Linked DNA regions of Homo sapiens: regions 2, 3 and 4 are each linked to region 1. The links are contacts of gene promoters, found by promoter capture Hi-C in blood cells and fetal thymus (Javierre and others, 2016). All regions are on one chromosome and are shown on one strand. Each heading gives the region's core, a stretch centred on a gene start or on the middle of the fragment in contact. The rest is flanking DNA. Distances are from core to core; before and after follow the strand shown. Region 1 holds the start of RAVER2 (ribonucleoprotein, PTB binding 2). Region 2 overlaps UBE2U (ubiquitin conjugating enzyme E2 U). Region 3 has its middle 81 kb from the start of UBE2U. Region 4 has its middle 5.7 kb from the start of MIR101-1.

Region 1 (6,251 bases), core at 1,824-4,323:
TAGAGCCGGTACTTCTATAAGGTATTTGATAAACATACCTCTAAAAGCTTCCAGTTAAAAATACTTTCAGTATGCCTTTTAATTATAGGAACTATAAAGTTGTGGGATGCTATTATAAATCTGCTATACCAAAAATAAAACAAAATTTGAGATTTATGAAAACTACATTTAATAAAGAAAACACTCATATATTTCAAATGTTAAGAAAAAATTATTGGGTTTCTACTAGTAAGTTATTGATCAGTATTTTCTAGAGACATAAATACACAGTTTGAGAACTAGAGTTATGAATGTCTTTGATCCTTAAAGTGATATTCTAAAATAAAGAAATGAGGCCAGGCACAGTGGCTCACACCTGTAATCTCAGCACTTTGGGAGGCCGAGGCGTGTGGGATCACCTGAGGTCAGGAGTTCAAGACCGGCCTGGTCAACATGGCAAAACCACATCTCTACTAAAAAATACAAAAATTAGCCAGGCATGGTGGCAGGCTTATGTAATCCCAGCTACTTGGGAGGCTGAGGCAGGGAGAATCACTTGGACCTGGGAGGCAGAGGTTGCAGTGAGCTGAGGTCGCGCCACTGCACTCCAGCCTGGATGACAGAGCGAGACTCTGTCTCAGAAAAAAAAAAAAAGAAAGAAAGAAATGAATGAATAAACACAGTCTCTTCTGGAAAAGAACAAGAACTTAGTATTTCAAAAATATCTGATTACTTAATAATTGAACAAAAGCCATATTAACCATTTCATAAGGGTAAATATGTAGTTTTAGCACAGGTGATTTTATGTAGGCCTTACTAGCAAAAAGACACAAAATAAAATAAAGTGAAACTTTCATCAGTAAGTTGACAGTAAAATATAGTCACTAAGAAAAAGCAGACATTATAATTAAGGGAAATTGTTAAAACAAAAAATACAAAAAAATTCATGCAGAACATATGAAAATATTAGTTTAAGTAGATGAAATCTCAAAAATACAAATCCCAGTGTAATTCTGAGAAAGCTTCTATCACTAATTAAAACTGCTCCTTTTATTAGACCCTTTGATATATTTTTCATGTCTATTGCGAAGGGAAATGAGAAAGATACCAACAGCAAAGCAAGAATAGACAGAACGTCTTCAATTTGGGGTCTAAATATATTTAGAATTAATGCAAGGAATTGTGATAACAAAAACAGCTGACATTCTACAAAGACATTGAGATACTTCTCTATTTCTCTCCTCCTAGACTGTCTATACAAAGAGCTGCTATTTTTTAAATTTGTTTTTTTAAAAAATGCCATCTGCTTCTTCCAAGCCTCCTCCTTCCTGAGCTCCCTTACAGTCCTCTATTTGTATGGGCAGGGGAGGCTGCTTCCAAGAAATCAGTCCATTGCAGGTGTCCTTAACAGGTAGTATCACAAAACATTACCTGACAGATGGGAAGTGGACCATGGCGGAATGGAAAGAGTTGAAAGACAGATGAGATAAACAATACTGACAGACACTGCATTTTGAAACAAAATAGCCCCCCATGCCTACGGGTTATAAGGTTATATGTTCATATTTATTGTGAATGGCTATGTAAGGTCTCATTACATAGTAATGGGGCATTGGTCTCATTATTTTATAAGTCACATGGAAGAACTGCCATGCAATTGTCAATAGCCAGCCCTCTTGCAATTTCATGCATCCGGTTACAGGAGGAACTACAAATCCGCAACTACCAGGACAGCCCACCACACTCGGAGCAGTATATAAATTCAGGTTATATGTGAAACATGTGTGAACATCCAGACAGCTAAGAAATCCTGAAGAATCAAAGAAATGATTTCAAGCTTTTGATAAAACAAAAATATATATGCATAGGAAAAGAGAAAAGAACAACATCCCAGGATAACAATGGTTATCTTCAGGTATCAGAAATATGGGTAATTTCTGTGTCCCCTTTGTGCTTCTCTGTCTTTCCTAGCTCTCCTACAATGAGCATGCAGCTTTTGAAATCAGGGGAAAAAAAAAGTTAAATAGATGCAGAGTTTCTAATCTTAAAAGCAACAGTTAATCTGGATTAAATACACAGAGTAGCTATCTTTAAACCTCATCCAAGTCACTGAGAACAAACCCTCCAGTACTGTACTTGGCGTAGCAGGAGGCGGCTGCAAGGCTCCAAGGAGCGCAGCAATAACTCTATTCTGGGGCCTTAGCAAACTGAGAAGACAGAGTTGTTTCATAGAAACTTGGGCAAGTGCTTCTGCAACAACAGCGAAACTCACTCCCAGCTCTCTCGTGCCCCTGCCCCCTATGGCACTCCCGAGCACCGGGGACTATACGTTGGAGCCCTCGCCCCTGCCAAGGTGCTCCCGAAGCTTCGGCCCCCTCTACCCCCGCTCCCCCCCGCAAAATGTGTGCTCCACAACTCACCTCCACTCTCCTTCACCTCCTACTCCTCTACGGCCGTAGGGGAAGGAAAGACCGGGCCGAACTTGGAGGCAGCAGCCCCTGATTCCCGTGACCTTGGAGAAGCCGCTTCGCCACTCAGAGCCTCAGTTTCCCAATCTGCCCCCCTCCCTGGCAGGGCGTCTGCAGGCTAGAAACCCCAAGAACTCAGTCAAACCGAGGGGCCGCTCTCACCACTCGGCGCCGACCCACTCCCCAGGACCGCTCTGAGGCGCCCCCGATCCCAGCCTGGACACGGAGCGCCGCCCCGCCGCCCCTCGGGACGCGTCGCCCCTATCACCGTCCCAGTACCTGGCAGTTGCTGTCCTGGGGCAGGTTTTTCACCAGGATTTTCCTGCGGTTGCTCAGCTCCCGCTGCATCCGCTGCAGTCGCGCGGCGACCTCCTCAGGGTGCAGCGCGGCGGGCATCGGGTCCGGGGCGCCCTCGTGCGCTTCGGCTGAGGGGCCCTGCCCGCGCAGCCCCGGCCCCGGCCCCAGCCCCGCCGCGCTGCCCAGGCCCGCGCCCCCCTCGCCGCCGCCGTCTCCCGCCGCCGCCGCCATCTTCCCGGGCGCCCAGCGGCTGCGGACTCCTCGGAGGCTCCAGGGGAAGCGGAGAGAGAAAGCGGGAGGAGGCCCGGGCGAGGGCGAGGCGGGCAGAGGCCGCAGAGTGGGCCCAACCGCGGGGAAGGGGGGCGGTGGGAGGAGGGAGTAGAGAGAGGCGGCGCCGCAGCCAGCAGCCTGCTGGCGGGGAGAGGAAACCTGAGGCGCCGAGGAGGAGCCCGAGAACCACCTCGCGGGAACCTCCCCCGCCGGCCCCCGGCCCCGGCGCACAGGCGCGCCCGCGCCCGCCTCTCGCGGGTCCGCAGGCGGGGCCGGGCGCCGCCACCCGGACACCTGTGAGGGCGCGGACGCGCAGGCGGGCTCCCCCTCTCTGCGAGGCCTTCGCGAACGCCCAGGGTCGTTCTCTGGGGGATGCGGCCCCTTCGCGGTGGCTTCGCCGGGAGACTCAGCCCCAGGCGCCTGTCCCCGGCTGGCCCCCCATGTGACGCCGCAGCTCTCCCCCGGCTCCCCTCGAAACTCCCGCGCTGGGGCGGCCCGGGGGCTGCGGGCGCGAACTCGGTCTTCCCACACCCGAGATGGGGCTGGAGGGGTGGCAGGAGGGCGCCTCCTGCAGCCCGGCTGGCTCCCGATGGTAACCCTTCTGTTGGTTCAAGAAGAGCATATTTGGCAAAGTTTGAGTTTACAATGAGATTTTCTGGGGAGTAAAAAGAGGGACATTGTGGGAGAAATGTTATGTATTTGGTAAAACCTGATCGTAATGTATTTTGCTAGCTGTGTATGAGAAAGCCTGTGCCCTTCACCTGTCCCTCTGTCCCTGTCATGCAGTTCCTAAAATGTAAAACCTGGGTAGTTGGGTCTGCAACATGGAAAGTGATGCTGAAACAAAGACTAGAATGGAAAAGGAGCTGTGGCAGAGGGGCTGGAGAATACGCTGCTTGGAACATTATTTTAATTGAAACTTGGAGGGAGAGTTACAGTGTAGAACTATACTTAGTCAAACGGATGTCATCAGATCAAACAATCCAGCAGCCTTTGGCACTAGCCCAGGTGACCATCAGCGAAGGGGACCATGCATCTTAATTGTGTAGCATGCAAGTACACTAGCAAAAAAAAAAAAAAAAAAAAAAAAAAGACTTTAACACTAATTAAAAGAAAAACAAAATGTTTTAAAGATTTTTTAAAAATACTACAAATTCAGTCCTTACCATGTGCTCCCCCCAACCACGCATTTCTAAATGCTTTACATATACATATTTATTTACTCTTCATGATCATTCAATTACGTAGGTTTTGTTTTCCTCACTTTACACGTGAGGAAATGGGATCTGTTCTGATTGATTCCAAAGCCCAGTGTTCTGAATAACATAAAATAATTCACCCGTAATCCGTCCACCCAAAAATAATGGCTGCTAATACTTGTATCATTAAAATGATATTCGGCAATACACCCTTCTATACCACCACTATTCCTGGTAACCAAAGGATAGAAACAACCCAAATGTCCATTTATTGATGAACAGATAGGCAAAGCGTGGGATATATATATGCTAAGAAATATTTTTAGCCATAAAAAGGAATTAAGGACCCCTACAAGGTGGACGAACCTCCAAAGCATTAAATGAAAGAAGCCAGAGACAAAAGGTCATATATTGTATGATTCCATGCGTATAAAATATCAGAATAGGTAGATTCATAGAGCGGAACACAGATTGGTGTTTACCAAGGGCTGGAGGAGAAGGTAATGGGTGCAAACATCCTTATGGAATGATGAAAATCTAGTTTTGGAACTAGACAGAGGGGGCAGTAGCCCAATAATATGAATGTACTAAATAGTCACTGAACTATTCACTTTTAAAATATTAATTTTATTACGTGACTATTACTGCATAAAAATGTTTTTGAATGATATTCTGTAGTTTACAGCTCTGTTTTCTGCTTTTTACAGTATGTCTGCTGAATCCCTTTCTATGCCAATGTATTTGAATACCATGGTTTTTATGGCTGCATATTATTCTGTTGAATTAGAAAATTCACTTATTTCCTAGCATTAGTATTTCCTATTATTTTTATCTATTGTAAACAGCACTGAGTTTAACCCTCTATACATATTTGAAGATCATTACTTTTCCACAGAGTGAAGAACTAGAAGCAAAATTTCTGCATCTAGAGTAAGCATATTTAAGGATTTTTTGTATGTATTTACAAACTTACCTCAGTTTTCCCTATCACAAGCATTGTATAAGAGCACTTATTTCTCTGCTTGCATCCATGATATTCTAGTATTAATGTATCATTTTGCTTTTAAATTGTATTCCTTTGATTTTAAAAGGTATACATTTTAAACTCCAATAAGGCCCTATTTTGTAGAGCTGAGAGACTTTGAAAAGTACATTCTTTGAAGTGAAGAAGCATGAATAGCCTTAGCATAGGCTGTAACCTTGAGTCATTCATTATGTTTCAGAACATGTATTTATCCAAATGAGTACCACCTCCTTGGCAAACATTTATTAAATGTCCCTTATGTGCTAGATAATATATAAAGGCAATAAGAAGACAGAAATAGTAAAATAATGCTCCTGTACAATAGGGGCTAAGTCTCACTGAGAGAAAATTATGCAATGATTATAATTAAATATAATAAATATGCAAACGGATAGTGGTCTGAATATAACTTCAGTGATTGCTTTTGCTCAAAACATTCTCCAAAGTGCTTTTTTTTTTTCTTTTGTGACGGAGTCTTGCTCTGTTGCCCAGGCTGGAGTGCAGTGGCGTGATCTTGGCTCACTGCAACCTCCGCCTCCCAGGTTCAAGCGATTCTCCTGCCTTACCCTCCAGAGTAGCTGGGACTACAGGCGTGTGCCACCAAGCCCAGCTAATTTTTTGTATTTTTAGTAGAGACGGGGTTTCACCATGTTAGCCAGGATGGTCTTGATTTCCTGACCTCATGATCCGCTCGCCTCGGCCTCCCAAAGTGCTGGGATTACAGGCGTGAGCCACCACGCCCAGCCCCAAAGTGCTTTTTTGGAATTGACTTTATAATCTACAGCAAATTATTCTGCATAGTTTATGTGGTAGCAAATACTCACCTCTTAGAGATGGGTTTAATTTTTGGAAATAATTAAATGTTATTTGAGGTTAAGTCTGGTGAATGAATCAGGTGTTGATTATGTTTTGGGAGTTATGATAATGTAATTCCAGTTTTGGCCCCAATGGGGACATGATTACAATGTTATCAAATTATTAAGCCAATTTTATTAAGTGGCTACTTTGAATTGA
Region 2 (6,251 bases), core at 1,156-3,655, 480 kb after region 1:
CATGTTAGATAGAAGAAACAGCACACATCGTATAAGCACAAAGGTATGAGAGGACTTGACAGGGTTAGGGGTGATCAGAATGGATTCTCCCGCGCTTCCACTGTGCCAGGTGCGGTGCTAACCCGTCGACAGCTATAATATTATTTAACTCAGACACAACCCTTGTGATGGGCAGGTATTATTATTCTTATTTTACAGATGAGGAAACTGAGGCTGAGCAACCTATAGTAACTTGATCAAAGATATCCAGCTAATAACAAGACTCGTCCCAGATCTGTCTATCCAAAAACACAATGTTATAGTATACAGAAAGTTTCGTGGAGCTGGAAGGGAGGCTGAAGCCAGATCAGGAAAGCCTCATATGTCATGCAAAGGACTTTCATCTTTATCTTATAGGCCTTGTAAACAGGGAAATAAACTGATTATACTTTTCAAAAGGAGAATATAGATATAATGTCTATATTTCTAGATGTATATTTCTACACAGCATGGGGACCTTGCTTTCTGGGGATGAACTCTAGCTGGTACTATTTATGTTCTGTTAACTCTAAAATCTCACTGCATTCTCTTCCCTTTTTCCTAGTTGTCACCGGATTCACTGCTGATTATGGGTTCCAGGACAAATTTTGTTTGCCTCATATGTTTATTTCCCTCACACATGAAATAAACCCTGTAATATTTGCTGTCTTCTAATGTTATAGACATGGGCTACAAGTGACTTGTTTTCCTTCTGTCTTTGGTTTATAGAAAGATACACAGACAGACCGGGCATGGTGGCTTACACCTGTAATCCCAGCATTTTGGGAAGCCAAGGCAGGTGGATCCCTTGAGGTCACGGGTTCGAGACCAGCCTGCCCAACATGGTGAAACCCTGTCTCTACTAAAATACAAAAATTAGCCGGGTGTGGTGGCAGGAGCCTGTAATCTCAGCTGCTCTGGAGGCTGAGGCAGGAGACTCACTTGAACCCGGAAGGCAGAGGTTGCAGTGAGCTGAGATTGACCCACTGCACTCCAGCCTGGGTGACAGAGTGAGACTCCCTCTCAAAACAAAACAAAGAGAGAAAGATACACAGAGAGATGTGAGTTTACACAGTCACCATTATCCTATGGTTATCCTGAGGCCCACAGTGATTTTTAATTTTTTGTACTTTCGGTACTAATATTTAGTTGTAATTAATTTAAAACTAAATTCTGTCTGTGCCTTGAGAAAAGCATCTATTTATTTTCCATGAACATATTATTGATGGACTAACTCCAGTTCTTTCTAACCATGCTTGGGCCTTTCTGACTCCACATGCTTTTGATTACAAGAAATATAAAGCCAAGTCAACCCAGTTTAAACAATAGGAGAGTGTTTTATCTCACATAAGAGAAAAGCCAGAGTGGAGAGCAAGACTGAATGTTTTCAGTGACTCCACAATGTCACGAAGGACACAGCTCTTCTTACTGCTTGCTTTGCTAACTGAGGTGTTGTCTTCATCTTCAGGTGCATAGCAAGAGAGCTACGGCCATTCTAGTAACCACACCGGACACAGCAACATCCAGGGGAAAAAGCGATCTTCTCACCAAGATCTCATTTTTAAGAGTGGACGGCAAAACCATCCCCTGAAGTGCCCAGCATATTTCCCCTCAAGCAGGATCCTGTCACATGCCATTTCTTTTATTTTAATTTAATTTAATTTTTTTTTTGAGGCAGGGTTTCACTCCCATTGTCCAGGCTGGAGTGCGGTGGCGTGCTTTCAGCTCACTGCAACCTCTGCCTCCTGGGATCAAGTGATTCTCTCACCTCAGCCTCCCAAGTAACTGGGACTATAGGCATTCACCACCATGCCCAGCTAATTTTTTTTTTAGTAGGGATGGGGTTTTACCATGTTGGCCAGGCTGGTCTCAAACTCCTGACCTCAGGTGATCCACCCACCTTGGCCTCCCAAAGTGTTGGGATTACAGGCGTGAGCCACTGCGCCCCGCCCCATTTCTAAACTAGTTACTGGGAAGGGAAATGGGATCACCATGATTGGCTGACGTGAGTTGCTGGCGTGGAATGAAAGTTGGGAATCAACCACCTTGACTATTTGCCTTCTTAGTTCCTGCCCTGTTAAAAACTCCCAGGAAGCATAAAAAGAAACCTGGCTAGATCAGCAGACTATAATGCAAAATAAATATAGAAATGTTTCTTTAGAACATAAAAAACAATATTATTTTGAATTTCTCTCCTCCAGGAAATCTTAAGCATTATAAATCTCTCTGAGACACCTTGGATTTGGTGGTTGGAATCAGTAATAAAGGTGGGGATTTTGTTACTATGTTAACAAAATAAGTTATGGAAGCACAAATTCTAACTGCCTTATATTTTCCATGCCTTTCTTGGGTTGGATCATGGAAACTCTGCCTCTGATAATTTATTTTTAATCTGAAAATAGTTTAGCTAATAAAGATATTAAAATCTGTGCTGACTGATGGGCTTTGATGATTGCCAAATGGTTTATTTCTATTCAGTCCTGTTTTCAGCCTGGGTTCAGTTAGGAAAACAGAGCCACTACAAGTAATACAAGAGTGAGAGTCTAACACAGGAATGTGGGATTATCCAGCTGTGGGAGGACCCAGGGGAGTGAAGATCTGGAAGCTACAGCTGGAGAATTGAAAAAAGAGTCGTGACCCACTTTAGTCTGATGCACTGACACGAGTGGGAAACCAGGAGCTCATAGAGTACAAGAGGCTGCACACATTTAGCCACCCAAAGTGGGACAAAAACAATGAGTTCATGGGGATATTTGTGCAGCCACCATGTCTGTGAAGTGAGGCTGTGGAGAGATGTGTGAAAATGCCATATCTGAGGAACCCGCCATGCCTGATATGAACAACTTCCCAAGCATAATGTCCTCAACTTCCCTCCCACCTGCCAAATCTCTGGTGAGTTTCTCCCACTGGCAAACTATGACATGCCATCCTTCTCTGCAAAAGAGGGACACACAATTCTTTCCTTTTCTGAGTCATACTTCCCTTTGATATCCTATATAAGTTCATTCTCGCTACATAATAACTCTCTTGCTACATAATAAACAACCACAAAATCTTAGTGACATACAGCAATAAGTATTTGTTTTGGTCACATGTCAGCAGGTCAATAGGTGGTTGGCTTCTTTGGCTGGGGAATGGCTGGGAAACGTGGGTGGGCAAGCTCAGATCTATGCCTTGAATCTTTCTCTGTGATCAGAGGGCCAGTCCAGGCACGCTCTGGTGATGATGGCAGAAGAGAAAAAGAGCAAGCCAAATCATGCAAACCCTTTCCAAACCCTGGGGGCACACTGCACCCACTAATATTCCACTGATGAAAACAGGTCACAGGGAAAAGCTCAAAGTCAAGGCACAAGGAAACATGTTTTGTTCATGTAGGTGGAGCAGGAATTAATATTTCTGAACAATAATCAAATTTACCACAACCTCTCAGGTATAGTTTCTTCCAGAGTAGACAGAAAGGAGTCTATTCCATGATTAAAGAGGACAAGGCTCAGCACTGGAGCGCTAACCAGTTTCTGGACATTAAACTTAAAATGTTGTCTCTTCCAACTTGCCTTTTCCCCACTTATCATGGGTTTTCACCTTTTTTTCCCCCAAATCACAAGGCAGATAAAAACATGACAATTTTACTTCATCCTACTATTTACTTACTCATTGATAGCTACTGTATGCCAACCACTGTGCTGTGGAAGACTGGGAGGTGAGCAGTCCCTTCCCTCAAGAATCTCACTCTTTTTCAAAGGAGACAGGCAGTAAAGAGAGTAATAACACAGCATGTGTGCCGGACAGACTCCAAGATGGCCCCTAGAATCCCTGCATCCTGGTATTTACACCTGAGTGTAAACTCCTCCTTTCTGAGTGTGGATAGGACCCATGACTTCTAACCAATAAAATAGGATGCAAGTGATAAGGTCTCACTCACATGATTATGTTACATCACATATGACTCCATCTTGCTATCAGACTTGCTCTAAAGACTCTTGCTGGATAAAGTAGGAGGCCAGGCTGGGAGAGCCCATATGGCAAGGAACTGTGTGCAGCCCTCAGCAGCTGAGGGAGGCCTCCCACATATACCCAGCCAGAAGCCAGGGCCCTCATTCCTAAAGACAGAAGAAAATGGATTCTGTCGACAACCTCACTGGGCTGGGAAGCAGATTCCTCCCCCATTCAAACCACTAGGATGAGAATGCAGCCCAGCCAAAGCCTTGATTGCAGCTTTCTGAGACCTTAAGCAGAGGATTCAGCTAAGCTGTGCCTGTACTCCAGGCCCACAGAAACAGTAAAATAATAAATGTGTGTTGTTTTAAACCATTCAATGTGTGCTAATTTGTGACACAGCAATAGAAAACAAATAGAGCATGATACGGCTATGGTAGAAGTGCTATGATAACCCACAAAGAAAGTTTCCTAAAAAAGGTAATACCCGAACTGAATCTCAAAGGATGCATAGGCATTAGAAAGTAAAGAAGGGGAGAGAAGAGCATTTAGAGTAGGGGTATGAGAAAACACAGTGTACTGCTCAAATTTTTTTATGAAATGAGGTAGGGAACAAACAATCATGACCCACTAGCTTAGTGTAGCATTTAGGTTGTGAAGGGGAGAGGGAGGGAATGTCACTGCAAAGACAGAGACAAGTATTAGAGCATTAAGGATTTTCTGTGTCAAAGAGTCTAAATTTTATCCTGAAGGAAAATGGGAAACAAAGTATTTTAGACCTGGTAAAAACATAAGCAGAGCTGAGCTATAGAGACATAGCTTTGTCACCAGTCTGACAAAGCATAGACAAAAATTACTGTAATCACATCAACTTAACCAACTGATCTCTTCCACTGGTGAACATGGTGGGGATGTTGAAAGACAGAGATTGCAGAGGGGAGTAGGGAAATCATGGAGAAAGCAAAGAGCAAGGCTGGAGAAGGCAACATTTCCTACCTCACAGGTACCCTGAAATCTGGAAGAAGGGAGAGTTGAATGGAGAAGGCTGAGGCTGATAATACAGAGGAGGAAATCTGCGTGGCACACCAAACAATTAGGAGGGAGAGAGGTGGATACTGAGCAGGGAAAAGAAACTTGGAGATACGGGGGCAGGGCCCTTGGAGAATCACTGAATGAAGGTGATTGCCTGTGCCTGGCATTTATATGCTGTTATGTTTAGTGGCCAGGTGACAGGAAAAAACAGTAACTATTTTTTTTTGTACTTTTCAGTTCACAAAGAAATTGTCTATACATGGAGTCACTTAGTCATAAGAATCCTGTGAGTAAGGGCAGATTTTTAGCAACTAGGATTTGTTGAACATCTTCCACATACACAGTACTAGCTAAGGATGAAAAAAACTAAGTTCAGAGGTTGAGTGACCTTTCCATAGTAGCACAGAACTGGAATCTGAACCTAAGTTCTCTATCCCCAAATGTCATGCTTTCCCCTCTATACCAGCTGACTTCCATGGTAAGTTACCAGCTCTCCCGGCTGAAGACTCACTCTCAACCTATCCCAACAAGTAAATGGTAATTTTTAAAAGAGCACGAAAAACAACTCAGCATTGTTTCTTTCTTTTCAACCATATTGCATATACCTTTGAATATACAATGAGTTTTAGGGATCAGTTTATTAGTGCTCTGTGTGTTTTGGCTGCTTTTTCATATTTTGAAACTTAGCCTTAAAATTTCAAATTGTATATCAACCTATTAAAGGGTAGTAAGCTTGAAAATATAAGTAACTCAATTCTGTCAAAGTTCCAATTCCTATGTGACTAATTTACCAAATTAATTTGGAAAGTCAGAAAAAGTTAAAGCAACCTTAAAAGGAGAACACAAGGATTAGCCCTCATATATTCCAACTTACTTAAATGGAAAAAAGTTTAAAGTTATGCATATTATGCATAATATGTTATTTATAAAAGCAAAACAAATAGAGTGAATCGATTTACTTAGAGTTGGGCAGAGCTTAATTTCTTCCATTGAGTGAGTGACTTCATGAGGCATTCTTTTTCTAGCAAGCCAACACTTGATAACGGAATACCTAGAAAGAGAAAAAGAAAACTAAATTCCCAAATGAATTTTGGTAAGGGTATATTTACTTCTGAGAAAAATAAGTGAAACAAATGAAATGAAACATAAAAGTAGAACAATAGGCTTTGAATATGGAACCATTCTGAGTCTTGACTAATTTAATGGTAAAGTAAAATTATTTCAATATGTGCTTTCCAACAGAATAGAAGTTGGAAAAGCAAATG
Region 3 (6,251 bases), core at 1,189-3,688, 460 kb after region 1:
CCATCAATAGGGAATTAGTTAAATAGATTTTGTTGTATTGGAAAACGGTTTTGAAAGCAAACAAGGCAGATCTCTATGTTAATGCTGCCTGGGATCTGGTGTTGAGGAAAAAAATAGTAGGTTGTAGAAGTACATGAATAGAATGGTCCTTCTTATTTTTTTCAAAGAGAACATTACATAGATTTACATGTACACATGCTTACACACATTAGATGGTAGGATGTCATCAGCTTGGACTGGTGATTATCTCTGAGGGGCGTGGGAGGGTGATTTTGCTCTCTGATTTGAGCACTTCTCAGCTATTTGAGTTTTTTCATCATTATTTTAAATGATGGAAATTAAACATTTTTACTTTATTTAAAAATTATTTTTCAATGCCAAGTTTCTCAGAAAGCCTAAAAGAGCAATAAAGATCGATATGAGGACTTGGTTTGAATATTGGCTCTGTAACTTACTAGCCATGTGACCTTTAGCTATCAATTTAATCTCTCTTGAAATCACATCCATTACTTGACAAGGAGGCAGGCAGCATATGACTCCCACCTGGTTGTACAATGGGGAACCTTTTTGGACACTGAACCACACTAAGGAATAGTAGATAACTGAATAGATGAGCTTTTGGAGAGGAGGTTAGCTTAATGCTGTTTCATGTCATTTGATATTGACATTAATAGGCTCCATAAAGCTTCTTCCCTTTTTATCCAGGATGTGAACCAGACATCTTTAAGATTGCAGCAGTTAATTTTATCCATTCAAGCTTCCCAATCAATGCTTTTACTTGGAAAATATTTATGCTTAGGATGCTGAAAAGCTTTCTCCGCAGTCAGGTCCCTAAGGCATTCTAATATCACTTTTTAGAGTTGAGTGCTGAGACCTTGGGCCCTTGAAGTGAGAAACAATAAATAATAATGACTACAGAACTTGGCAAATATAAAGCTCTAGGCAAAGTTGTAGAAAGAGTACTCAAGCGTGCAGAATAAACAAGATAATATATATAACTTTCTCAGTTTTTGATCCTAAAAATTAGAAGTAAAAACAGCAGCTGTAATTTTGAACGTTCAACAATCACATTGCAAGCATTTTGTATATCAACTGTCATTGCTTATTAGTGCACATTTCCTTTTCTTTTCAGTCTCTGTCTCTCTATTTCCATTTGCACTCTCCAACCTCATCCTGTAAAGCCCTGTTTACCCTCAGAATCAACTGCTGAGCTCTCTCTCTCAAGGTCCTCGCTGGTATCAATTTTCCATGTACCCCCAGAAGATTCAACTTTCCACATCACTAATTTCAACATGTCTGTCTTCTGCTTAAGTGTTTCCTAAGAGATGCAGAATAAAGTTTAACTTTGTAAAATTGGTACTCAAGGCTTCTTCTGTAATCTGTTTCCCTCATTTTGTCATAAGAGAAAGTAGAGTACGTGGTGTTTAGAGACCTGGGTTCAAGCTTCAACTATGATTAGCTTGTTTGGATTTCTTGATCTCTTTTAGCTTCAATTGTCTCATCCCTTTGTAAAATGAGATTTATAATAATGCCTATCTCTCAACGTTATTGTGAGGATCAAATGAATCCATGCTTGTGAAAGCACTCTAGACAGTAGGCACTGTAAAATACAATAATAGTAATAGCATTTATTGAATACTTGTATGAATCCAAACCTCACAGCAACCTAGAAGACTTATTACCATTTCCATTTTATAACAAATGAGGTACACTTGGGTTAAATAAGGCATCCTGGTTACACAGTCAGGCAGTGGCACAGCTAGAAGTCAAACCCAGGCGTGTGGCCCAGAGCCCATGCTCTCACCACTCTGTGGCACGGCCACTGGACGTGATGACTGCCCCTTCCTGACAAAGAGACATTCATTCAGGCTCCCATGCCAGTTAGTTCTCTGTTCTCAATCTTTTGGAGCATACACACTCATTAGATGGATCTATTAATAATTCCTCTGTTTTCCAGCATTCAACAAGATAGATGGTGCTCAATGATCATTTCTTGAATAAGTGAGTGTTATCTAATTCCGTATTCTTCAAACTTACCCATTTATAAGACTCACCCTGGGCACTTGTTAAAAATACACATTTCTTGCCCATTAAAGCCACAATGAGGTATCACCCCTCTCACCTCTCACAATGGCTACAATTAAGAAGACTGAAGATAACAAATGTTGACAAGGATGTGGAGAAAAGAAAATCCTTGTATACTGTTGGAGGGAATAGAAATTAGTACAGCGATTAGGGAAAACAGTATGGAGTTTCCTCAAAACGCTAAAAATAGAACCACCATGTAATCCAGGAATTCCTGGGTATATATTTAAAGGATATGAAATCAGTTTGTTGAGGAGATCTGCACTCCGATGTTCATTACAGCACTAGCCACAATAGCCAAGATTTAAAATCAACCTAAGTGTTTATCAAGGGATGAATGAATGAAGAAAATGTGGGATACATACACAATGGAATACCATTCAGCCTTAAAAAAGAAAGAAATCTTGTCATTTAAAACAACATAAACGGACATAAAGAACATAAGTGAAGGCTGGGCATGGTGGCTCAAGCCTGTACAGCACTTTGGCACGCCAAGGCGGGTGGATCACCAGATGTCAGGAGTTTGAGACCAGCCTGGCCAGCATGGTGAAACCCCATCTCTACTAAAAATACAAAGATTAGCCAGGGGTGGTGGCACATGCCTGTAATTCCAGATACTTGGGAGGCTGAGGCAGGAGAATCACTTGAACCTGGGAGGCAGAGGTTGCAGCGAGCAGAAATCGTGCCACTGCACTCCAGCCTGGGCAACGAGAGTGAAACTCTGTCTCAAAAAAAAGAAAAGAAAAGAAAAGAAAAGAAAAGTGAAATAAGCCAGGCACAGAAAGTCAAATGCTGCATGATCTCATTTTCATGGCAATCTAAAAAAGCTGAACTCAGAAGCTGAGAGCGGAATGGCAGTCACCAGATGCTAGGGGTTGGGGGCACCTGAGGGGATGTGGATCAAAAGGTACAGAACTTCAGGTAGAGAGGGGGACTAAGTTCAAGAAATCTATCGTACATCATGGTGACTATAGTTACTGACATATTTTGTCTACTTGAAAATTGCCAAGTGATTAGATTTTAAGTGTTCTCACCACAAAAAAAAAATGATAAATATGTGAGGAAATGCATATGTTAATTAGCTTGATTTAGCCATTCCACAATGTATACATATACCAAAATGCCATTCCATATGCAATAAATATATATAATTTATTTGTCATTTTTAGAAAAATAAAAGTATGCATTTCTGTGCTCTATGTGAGACCAGCTGTGAATCGGTAACTCTGGAGGTGGGTGGAATTAGATAAATCTAGTGTTTTATAAGTTCCTCAGGTGATTCTTTTAATCAGGTAAGGCTGGCAAGTACCAGTCTAATTCAATACATCTGAACCTCCCGGGAAGCTTTTCAAACCAGGCAAACCCATTTTTATCTCCATCTGCCTTCAGAGATTCTGAGTAAGTCTAGAATATGTATTGAAAAAACTTCTTAGGTGATTCTTATGCTTCCCTTTCCCATCCCTTCCTCAGTTAAAAACCCATTTCTACTTGTTTCACGTATAATATATACACTGTGGTCCACAACTTCACACTTCCACCCCAAAAGAGACTGAAATATGGATGCTTTGGGAGGCCAAGGCGGGCGGATCACGAGGTCAGGAGATCGAGACCATCCTGGCTAACACGGTGAAACCCTGTCTCTACTAAAAAATACAAAAAATTAGCCGGGCATGGTGGTGGAGCCTGTAGTCCCAGCTACTCGGGAGGCTGAGGCAGGAGAACGGCGTGAACCCGGGAGGCGGAGCTTGCAGTGAGCCAAGATGGCGCCACTGCACTCCAGCCTGGGCGACAGAGCGAGACTCCGTCGCAAAAAAAGAAAAAAGAAAAAGAAAAAGAAAATGAAATATGGATGGTAAGCTCTGTGTCTTATAATTTTGAATCCAACACATGCCAAGGACATAATGGCATAATGGTTGTTCAGTTGAATTAAAATTTCTGTTTTATTTCCTTATCCATCCCTGGGTTCAAGTTTAAACTATGATTAGCTTGTTTGGATTTCTTATTTACTCATTTTATAACTTAGTTACTCATTTTCTGCCTAACTACCTGGCCATGTGTCCAATATTTTGGTTTAATTCACTTGTGTCTTTTGCCACTTAGCTATCTCCCTGCCCTGGAATCCATAGTCAGTGCCTTCAAAACCCACCCTCATTGGAATCCTACATTATTTCGATTTGCACACCCTAATAATTCAGGCCATTCATTGACCCTCAATGCCAATAAGCCTCTGCGCTTGTCCTTCTTTTTTAAAAATATAATTTATTTGTTTTAATAAAAGTAGAGATGGAGTCTTGCTATGTTGCCCAGGCTGGCCTTGAACTCCTGGGCATAAGTGATCTTCCTGCCTTGGCCTCCTAAAGTGCTGGGATTACAGGCATGAGCTACTGCACCTGGCCATTGCCCTTCTTAATGATATATACCCAACAAGGTTTGTTCTGCTATAAATGAATCATGGATCACCCTATGATATGATCAAACACACGGAGTGCTCATGCAGAAAACATCTCCCCAACAGACCTGCCCAGGTGTCTAGAATTTCTAATACGATGCCTGTACATCTCTCCAGAACAATGCGAACATGACATGGGAGCATATTAACATCCTCATGAACACACTAGTTTATCCAGGCAGCTGAGAAGAAGGCCTAAGTGTAAAACATGGCTCTAGTCAGATGGCCTGTCTGGCACATAGGCAGAGACTCTAATAGGCACTACTCTGAGATACAAGCATTCATGACCCAAGAAGGACACAGAAAAGGGCAGAGATATTTGGTCAAGTTGAAAAAGGAAGACCCAAAACTTAGCTTGCCATGTAACACTTTCTGAGAATTAGAAATCTAACACTTTCTAGTCATTTGATTTATATAATTTCTAACTCCACAAACTCTCTTAATCTGATGATTTTAAGATGCCCATTCTTATTGCTGCTCATTTAGTTTTTTTCATCCTCTCATTCACTGTCTCAGACCCACTCTTATTTCTTTTCCTTGTCTCTAAAATCTTTTAAACATGCTCTTTTCCCTCAGGATTTTCCTGATTTTTACTTCTCCAACTCTCCTTGAATGTGAGATGTTGTTGGTAAAGAAAAAAAAAAAGACAGGGAAAAAAGATTTCAAGTTGGAATTCATTATTTGTCTGCTCTACTATTGTGTGTGTGTGTGTGTGCATGTGTGAGAAACTTTGAGACAGAGAGAAAAAGGAAACAGACAGAAAGGTTAATTGATTCTGTATTTTCCTTAAAGAGAATTAGAAGTTCACTGTGTTATGTAATTATATAATATAATTGGATTTATTTTTTTCTTTCACTTTTTTCTTTTCTTTTTGTCCCTCCCTTTTCCTTAAGTTGCTTTGAATTACAATAAAGGCTAAACAATCTGCCTTTGTATGCAATTTGTGCACAAGCTGCCAAGCTGGCTGCCAGGTTTAGTCCTGATGTGATCAAAAATGGTTGGGTTACAAAGCCACTGAAAAAACCGGTTTTCTACAGGAAATAGAAATTTATTAAAATCAGGCCTCCCCAAATGCCCTGGCTGTTAGGCTGGCAGCCTGCCAGGTCAGCAGGGCTGGAAGAGAAGGAGATGAGCAGATGTGATCGTGCAGCCCCTACTCAAGCCAGGCGGGAGGCGGGAAGCACTGCAGGGTCCTAGAGAAGCAACTGTCATACAAACAAAAGAATCTCCATCAAGAACACCAGAATTGTGGTTTCCCAATCCCTGACATTTTTAGGTGTTCTGGGGTGTGCCATTTGGATTCTGGCCATTCATGGGCTCCCAAATTATATTTCAAAATCTCTGATTTTTCCCAGCAGAATAAAATGTTAATACCCTTACAGGGTCTTGGGTTCTAACGTCAACAAAGATCCTTAACTTCTTTGAGCCTCAGTTACCTCATCTCTACATGGGGAATAATACCTACCCCATGAATTGTGAACTTAAATGAAATAACAACTGAGAACTGATAAGTATTGCCATTGTTATCTCCTTCCACCACAGGATGGGCTATCCCAGGCAACTGGCTGCCTCTCATTAACCACTGGTTTGGACGCTGCTTTGGTTCAGGGCACAAGGCCTAAAGAGGCACTGGCCTGGCTCTCCTGGGTTTCTTCTGACACTGTGATAACAGCTGACACTTACTCAGGGCTTACTTGAATTTGGACCAGCAATTGCT
Region 4 (6,251 bases), core at 1,463-3,962, 320 kb before region 1:
GGGGGCGGGCCAGGCGGCGCCGGGGGCCGAGGGCGCGCCACTGCCCAGCGCCTAGCGCCTGCCTTCAGCCTCCTCCGGGGACCGCACGCAGTTCGCCACCTCGGGGTAGGCGGCGGAGCGCGGGGGCGGCGGCGCGGGGCGGGCCGGGCCGGGCCTCCGCACTCCGGGACCGACTGCGAGGGTGTTGCCGGACTGGGTTTGTTGTTGTTAGCGCGTGCGTGTGTTTTTCCCGAGGGGTAGCGGGGCGACCTCGCCCATGGGCATTTCCGCGGTTTTGCGCGGCCCTCGCTGGGGTGTCAGTGGCAACGCGGGGAGCCCCGGGCGCCTGGCTCGGCCCCCGGAGGGGAGCGGCGCGGAGGGGCGGGGTGTGTGTGTAAATGTTGCGCACTCGCTTTTCCCCCGCCCCCGCCCGCGTCCAGGGTGCTGGCGTGGGTCCCTTGCCGTCCGGCGGCGACTGTAAATAGAGCCTGGATGTTGTTTACATGAAGGATCCGGCGGGAGGAGTCTAAGAGGAGGAGGCGGCGGTGCCGGAGGAGGAGGAGGAGGGAGGGAGAAGAGAGGAAGACCGGAGTCCCCGCGGCGGCGGCGGTCCGGAGAGAGGGCGAGCCCCGCGCGGCGCCGGGGACCGGGCGCTACCACGAGGCCGGGACGCTGGAGTCTGGGGTAGGAGGGAGAACGGGCACGGGGCGGGAAGAGGGGTCCGTCAGTGGCATTTTTAGCTTGCACCCTGCCACGCAGATTCTCCCCGGCCGGAGGGGAGGAGGGTGGAGGGAGGGCGGGGAAGCCTCGGTTTCTCTGCACGTTCGGGAACGCCTTCTCCCCCTTCATTCTCCCATTCCCAGTGTTTTCCCGCTTCTCCCCGGGCTCACCTGTTTATTTCCATCAGCTAGAGCTCGTGGTTTTTTAATATAGGCATGAGAGTCTGTTTCTTTTATTAGAAACATTATTGGGGAGAGGGGTGCTTTGCTGTAATTTGTGCTGGTCCAGGTCGGTTTTCAGGAAGGGGGAGGGGACTTGGCGGAGACGCCGGCTCCTGGCCGCAGCTGACCCCAGGGCTTCTCCCTGCCTTCCTGTGCGAGGAATTCTTTCCCTCACTCTGCTACCCGCACGCCAGCTGCCACCTTCCTGGAGAAAGACCACACCTGTGCTTATCCCTGCTTTGAAGGAGAGGTGAGCTGAGAAACCAGGGAATCCCCTGCTCTCCAGGGTTCTTAGTTAGTCCTCTCCGCAATCCCAGCATTGGCCAAAAATTGCTGCTTTCACCTGCTGATTTAATTTGGCATGTCTGTCCCCAGCCCCCCTTTCCCCCGGCAAGTTGTGATCTGCAGATGTTTTGGGATTTTCTCTTCCCTCTGGACCTGTCCCCCACCAACCAGCAAATAGCTCCTGGGCCTAGGTTGAGGGAGAGAGAGAAGTGACCCCCTTTGGCCAGTGCGCTGTTTTTTATTCCCCTCTGGGTCTTCTAATGGAATCTGCTGTCCCTCCGTAGCCCCCTTTATTTTCCCCTTAAGCTTAACCCAGAGCCAGGCCTAAGCAGCCTGTCTCTGGCTTTCTTTCCCCAGGCCCCACCCTGGCCCCTTTTGCTTTTCCAGCGCCAAAAAAAACGCCTCCCAAGCAGAAGACACACCCAGCCCAAGTCTAACCATTCCAAAAGGGAGGAAAACACAGAGGAAGAGCAGGGACCCAAGGGTCTCCTGTCCTGAATATTCCAACAGCGTTTCCCTCTAAAAGCCTCCTAGCTTTATAATCCCTTTATTCTGCTTACCAGTCGACCCTCCCCTCCTCTTTGCCCCTTGTTCTGTGATAGATATTTGGGGAGAGGGGTGGAGAAAGAGGTTGTCACCCTCTGTTCCTTACAGTGAGGCATTTTTCTTTTTCTCAGTCTTTTCATTTATTAGATGTTTAGCATGTAAAATATGTAAATCTGTTTGCAGGCTTATTTGAACTTGTTTTCTTGCTGGCTAAGGAATAGCTGATATTCTATAAAGGGAAGGAGGGGGGAAAAGATCAAAAGTAACACTCTGAGTTTTCCCCATTTGAGCATCCCCAGAGTTGCCAGAGAAGACCCTCCTATAAAAACCAACAGTCTCCCTTCCATGACATCACCACCTAAGCCCTTCCAACTTTAGCTTCAGAACAGGAAGAAGGCTCAAAATAGAACTACCTTAGGAATCCAGCTCCTTGAAAAGATCAACTTTTAAATCAGCTGCAGGAGGAACACAATGAACTTTGACATGGGGAGTGAGAAGGGAGAGAAGACTGTATAGTGTTCATAATTGGTTCCTTTGAGGGAGGGTTGGGGGATACTTACCGTGTATTTCAGAAAAGCTTTCCTCTAGAGTTGGGTACCTAGACCACTGAATGATAAATAGGATGGTTCAAGATTCATTTATTGAATTATTCATAAGTTTTTGTACGTCAACAATAACAAGCACGTTTCAGAATATGAATTAAAGAGGGGCCTCTCTGCAGAATCTGCTCTAGATAGAGAAGGTTGTTTCAGGAAGCTAGGAGGGCACTTGAAGACAGAGAACCTGAGGATGCAGTGACAGCTGCTGTGAGTATGTAAGTTGAGAGGCTCATAAACAATAATTGTGATAAACAATAATTGTAACTTTTGTAGGTGACTGATACCCTGGACAAAGAAGTAAGGATGTCAGGATTTTCCACCTCTACCTTGGAAATTAACTTCTTGTCTTTGAATCTCACTCAGTGTCTCCATTCAGTCCCTGAATTGAGATATGCTTTCCTCTCTGAGCTAAAATACTCAGTCTTTTGGAAGGGCTACCTAATAAACGATAATCACTGAAGTGTTGACAACTTAAAGATTGGAAGTGGAGCAGAAAATACTTGGTATAATTTGAGCACTTGGTGGGTGCTGTAAGATGACTTTCTGGTTGATGGGGTAACATCTTTTACTCTGGTTCGGGTTTAAAAGAATCCAGGTGACAGAGACAGGATACCTGCCCTAATATGGTAGCCACTAGCCACGTGGCTATTAACCACCTGAAATATGGCTAGGGTGAGGAAGAGCTCAATTTTAAATTTTATTTAATTTTAGACTTTGATAACTTGATTTAGTTATTGGAAAGCTTATTTATATTTGGAAACATACTTGAGCTTACGCATCTACTTTTGAAACTAAGTGTTTTGAAATCCAAACGCAAATTAAGTATTTTGATGAAAATTTAGAATTGGGATATGTAAGTGCAAAGTAATCTTCAGATTTCAAAGAATGCAAAAAAAGTAGAATAGCCCATTAATTTTATGTTGATTCCATGTTCAGATGATAATATTTTAGATATATTGGGTTAAATGAATATGCTATTAATTCCACCTGTTTATTAGTGTGGCTACTAGAGAATTAAAAATTACATGTGTAGCTTGCATTATATACTTCATTGGACAGCTCAGGCCTGCATTACTCCTTTTCATCTATGAATTAATTTCTTTTCTTTTTTTCTTTCTTTTTTTTTTTTTTTTTTTGAGATAGAGTCTCTCTCTGTCTTCCAGGCTGGAGTGCAGTGACGCGATCTTGGCTCACTGCAACCTCCACCTCCCAGGTTCAAGCGATCCTCTTGTCTCAGCCTCCAGAGTAGCTGGGACTACAGGTGTGTGCCACCACGCCCGGCAGATTTTTTGTATTTTTAGTAGAGATGGGGTTTCCCCACGTTGGCCAGGCTGGTCTTGAACTCCTAAGCTCGGGTGATCCATCCGCCTTGGCCTCCCAAACTGCTGGGATTACAGGCATGAGCCACTGTGCCTAGCCCCATGGATTAATTTCAAAAGTGGTGACTGTATGAAATATTGTTATTTCATGTTTGTGTTTCTATTTTCCACTGCTGTGTTCCATGTGATGATTGGGGACCCCAAGTATTACATTATTACTGTTATATTAGGGAGATTAGTGTAAAAGTCCAGGGTTCTAGAACGGCTAGCAGGGGTGTCATGGGAAAATTGGGATACCCACATACCCGGCTATTGCTGCTTTTGTAAAAGGATCCTGAACATAGCAAAAGGTACCGGAAAACAATGTGTGGCAAAGTAACAATTGTGACACCTGGTGGCATTTTAGTGATTCTACTCATCTGTCACTCACTTCCATTTATTTTTTCTTTGCTTCATCTACTTTCTGTCCCCCTCCCCACCAAATCACGGCTCCACTCGTGGCATTTGGGCCCACAAGGCTGCTGACTCCTTTCCTCCAAAAAAAGTACAATGCTAACGTGAATAGAGGTAGTGCTGTCTTTGGGTTTTGTTTTGTCTAATGAGATTCAGAAATTGCACTGGAAGGAACTTAGGAGCTATTCGGTGCTATCCCTTTATTTTATAGATGACAAACTGCCAAACACCTCACCTAAGACCATATAGACAGAGACTGGAATTAAACATACTCTTGTTGATAACTGTTTAGAGGCTCCCTGAGAAATGGAGAGGTTCATCAATTAATCAATCAATCAAGTATCTGTTGAGCTAGCATTTTGTGGAAATGACCACTAAGTGTTGTGAAGGGACATGAGTAAAACAGTTTCTGACTTTTTTAGAAAGAGTCCTGTTGACTTGAGGAAATAAGATATAAACAGCACCAAATTAAATTGCAGTATACAACACAGCACTTAATGAGTGCAGTGCCACTGTGGCATGTGTTACTAGTTAGTAGAAATGTGTTCATTTTACAGATGTAGGAATAGAAGCTTCGAGAAGGGTGGAACCTGCAGGGAAGTGGAGTGTAATTGTGTTCCTGGAACAGCCCAAGGCTGTAGAATTGGAGGTCATTGCAAGTCTTTGGTATTGGCTCCTTTAGCTGTCCATTAAGGGAATTTGAAAATCTGAGACCCAGCATTTTCAAATGGCAGTGCTGTAGTAATAAGGCAATCATAGATTAATTGGAGACCATCAGGGTTTTTAGAGATGTTTAGCCAGGGGTGGATCATTCCGAAGTTAGCTGGCATATAAAACTGACTTGTGAGCAAACCATAAAATCTAAAATCCGGGGGGTGAGAGTGGTGAAATGTGATGTAGAGCAAAATCAGAAAGTAAATTAACTGTGGAGTATACAGTTGGACTAAAAATATTTGTGCTGAGTACATGTTTGAAGGGGAGAGGCCCATATAATGTAATATATGGGCCAGTCATGTATTTATAAATTTTTAGTCTCCTGGAGCCTTTTTGGACTAAACTCTTGGTCAACATGAGGAAGAAAGCTCAGTCTTCTCTTTGTTACCGTGTCCATAGGGTTTTTTTTTCGTCCACATGGACCTTATAAAGTTACATAGCATGAGATTAATTAGGGCCAGTGCTCAAAGTCAGTAAAATGATGACACCTCTTCTCTAATCACTCTCAGTTAATGCTTCTCTTTGAGAATTGGGGCTAACTTTGTATAGGGCGGTGGTCCTTGACATTTTCTTGCCTTTCTGCCTATTTCTTTTTCCATAAAAGAGAAAAAAATTCTGTAACCTGCCACCTCATCAATCTTTGGCACAAATTAGTTTTTAAAAACTCAGTATAGCAAAGTTTTGCAATAAAATGCAAGTATACATTCTGTGTACTTGTGACAAAGCAGTATTGGACATTTGAGCAACTTTTGCTGACAGTTTATAACATCTCAGTGTGGTCAAATTTGGCCATTTTATATAGTATCACTGAATTAGATGATAATTTTCAAATTGGAAAACAAATCACACTAGTTAAAAGACCAGTGGATTTAAATACACTAAACTATAGTTTAAAAGTATTTTCAAATATTCTGCTTGGCCAACAACTTACGGTGCCTTCAGTTATTTAATATATAATCAGATATTCAAAGGTTTAAAACAATATTTTCATCTTAGTTTATAAATATGAGGGATGTAGCATGTTTTTTGTGCTTTTATTTGTACTCCACATTGATTGATCGCTTGAGAAAAGGTCTTTGTCACCCAGGCTGGAGTGTAGTGGTGCAGTCATGGCAGCCTCAGCCTTTCATGTTCAAGCAATCCTCCCACCTCAGCCTCCAAAGTAGCTGGGACTACTGGCCCTGCTCATACTATTTTTTGTAGAGACAGGCTTCCACTATGTTGCCCAGGCTGGTCTTGAACTCCTGGATTCCAGCAATCCTCCTGCCTCAGCCTCCTAAGGCGCTGAGATTACAGGTGTGAGCCACCATGCCTGGCCTTGTACTCCACGTTATTTTAAAAGTTCTTTGGTGTGCCAGTTTTCTATAAGTGCCTGGTTTTGTAGATAATATTTGGTATATGCGTTATGAAGAAAT

The links. Contacts are between HindIII fragments. The CHiCAGO score rates a contact against its expected background, and 5 or more counts as called.
Region 2: a contact is called between a fragment that was not itself captured here and the fragment with the promoter of RAVER2 in region 1, in 5 of 17 cell types (megakaryocytes, M0 macrophages, M2 macrophages and 2 more). The highest score is 6.9, in megakaryocytes.
Region 3: a contact is called between a fragment that was not itself captured here and the fragment with the promoter of RAVER2 in region 1, in 3 of 17 cell types (neutrophils, M1 macrophages and M2 macrophages). The highest score is 7.1, in neutrophils.
Region 4: a fragment that was not itself captured here is called in contact with the fragment with the promoter of RAVER2 in region 1 in 1 of 17 cell types (fetal thymus); the score reaches 5.1 in fetal thymus.

The regions. Positions count from the first base shown.
Region 1 is chr1:64,741,897-64,748,147 of GRCh38, reverse strand. It overlaps RAVER2 (ribonucleoprotein, PTB binding 2), which reads right to left and starts at 3,073. Exons shown (of 12, transcript NM_001366165.2): 1 at 2,727-3,073. The coding sequence starts at 2,975. RefSeq lists silencers at 3,100-3,299, 3,320-3,419. The HindIII fragment of the contact is 6,103 bases long and covers 2,347-6,251 here.
Region 2 is chr1:64,260,389-64,266,639 of GRCh38, reverse strand. UBE2U (ubiquitin conjugating enzyme E2 U) reads right to left here. Exons shown (of 10, transcript NM_001366232.2): 9 at 5,946-6,037. Among named protein-coding and RNA genes, the nearest start is that of UBE2U, 60 kb to the right of the region's middle. RefSeq lists an enhancer at 2,810-4,009. The HindIII fragment of the contact is 6,631 bases long and covers 1-5,720 here.
Region 3 is chr1:64,281,906-64,288,156 of GRCh38, reverse strand. No RefSeq gene overlaps it. Among named protein-coding and RNA genes, the nearest start is that of UBE2U, 81 kb to the right of the region's middle. The HindIII fragment of the contact is 1,986 bases long and covers 1,446-3,431 here.
Region 4 is chr1:65,061,040-65,067,290 of GRCh38, reverse strand. It overlaps a transcript of JAK1 not described here. Among named protein-coding and RNA genes, the nearest start is that of MIR101-1, 5.7 kb to the right of the region's middle. RefSeq lists a silencer at 1-416. The HindIII fragment of the contact is 764 bases long and covers 2,331-3,094 here.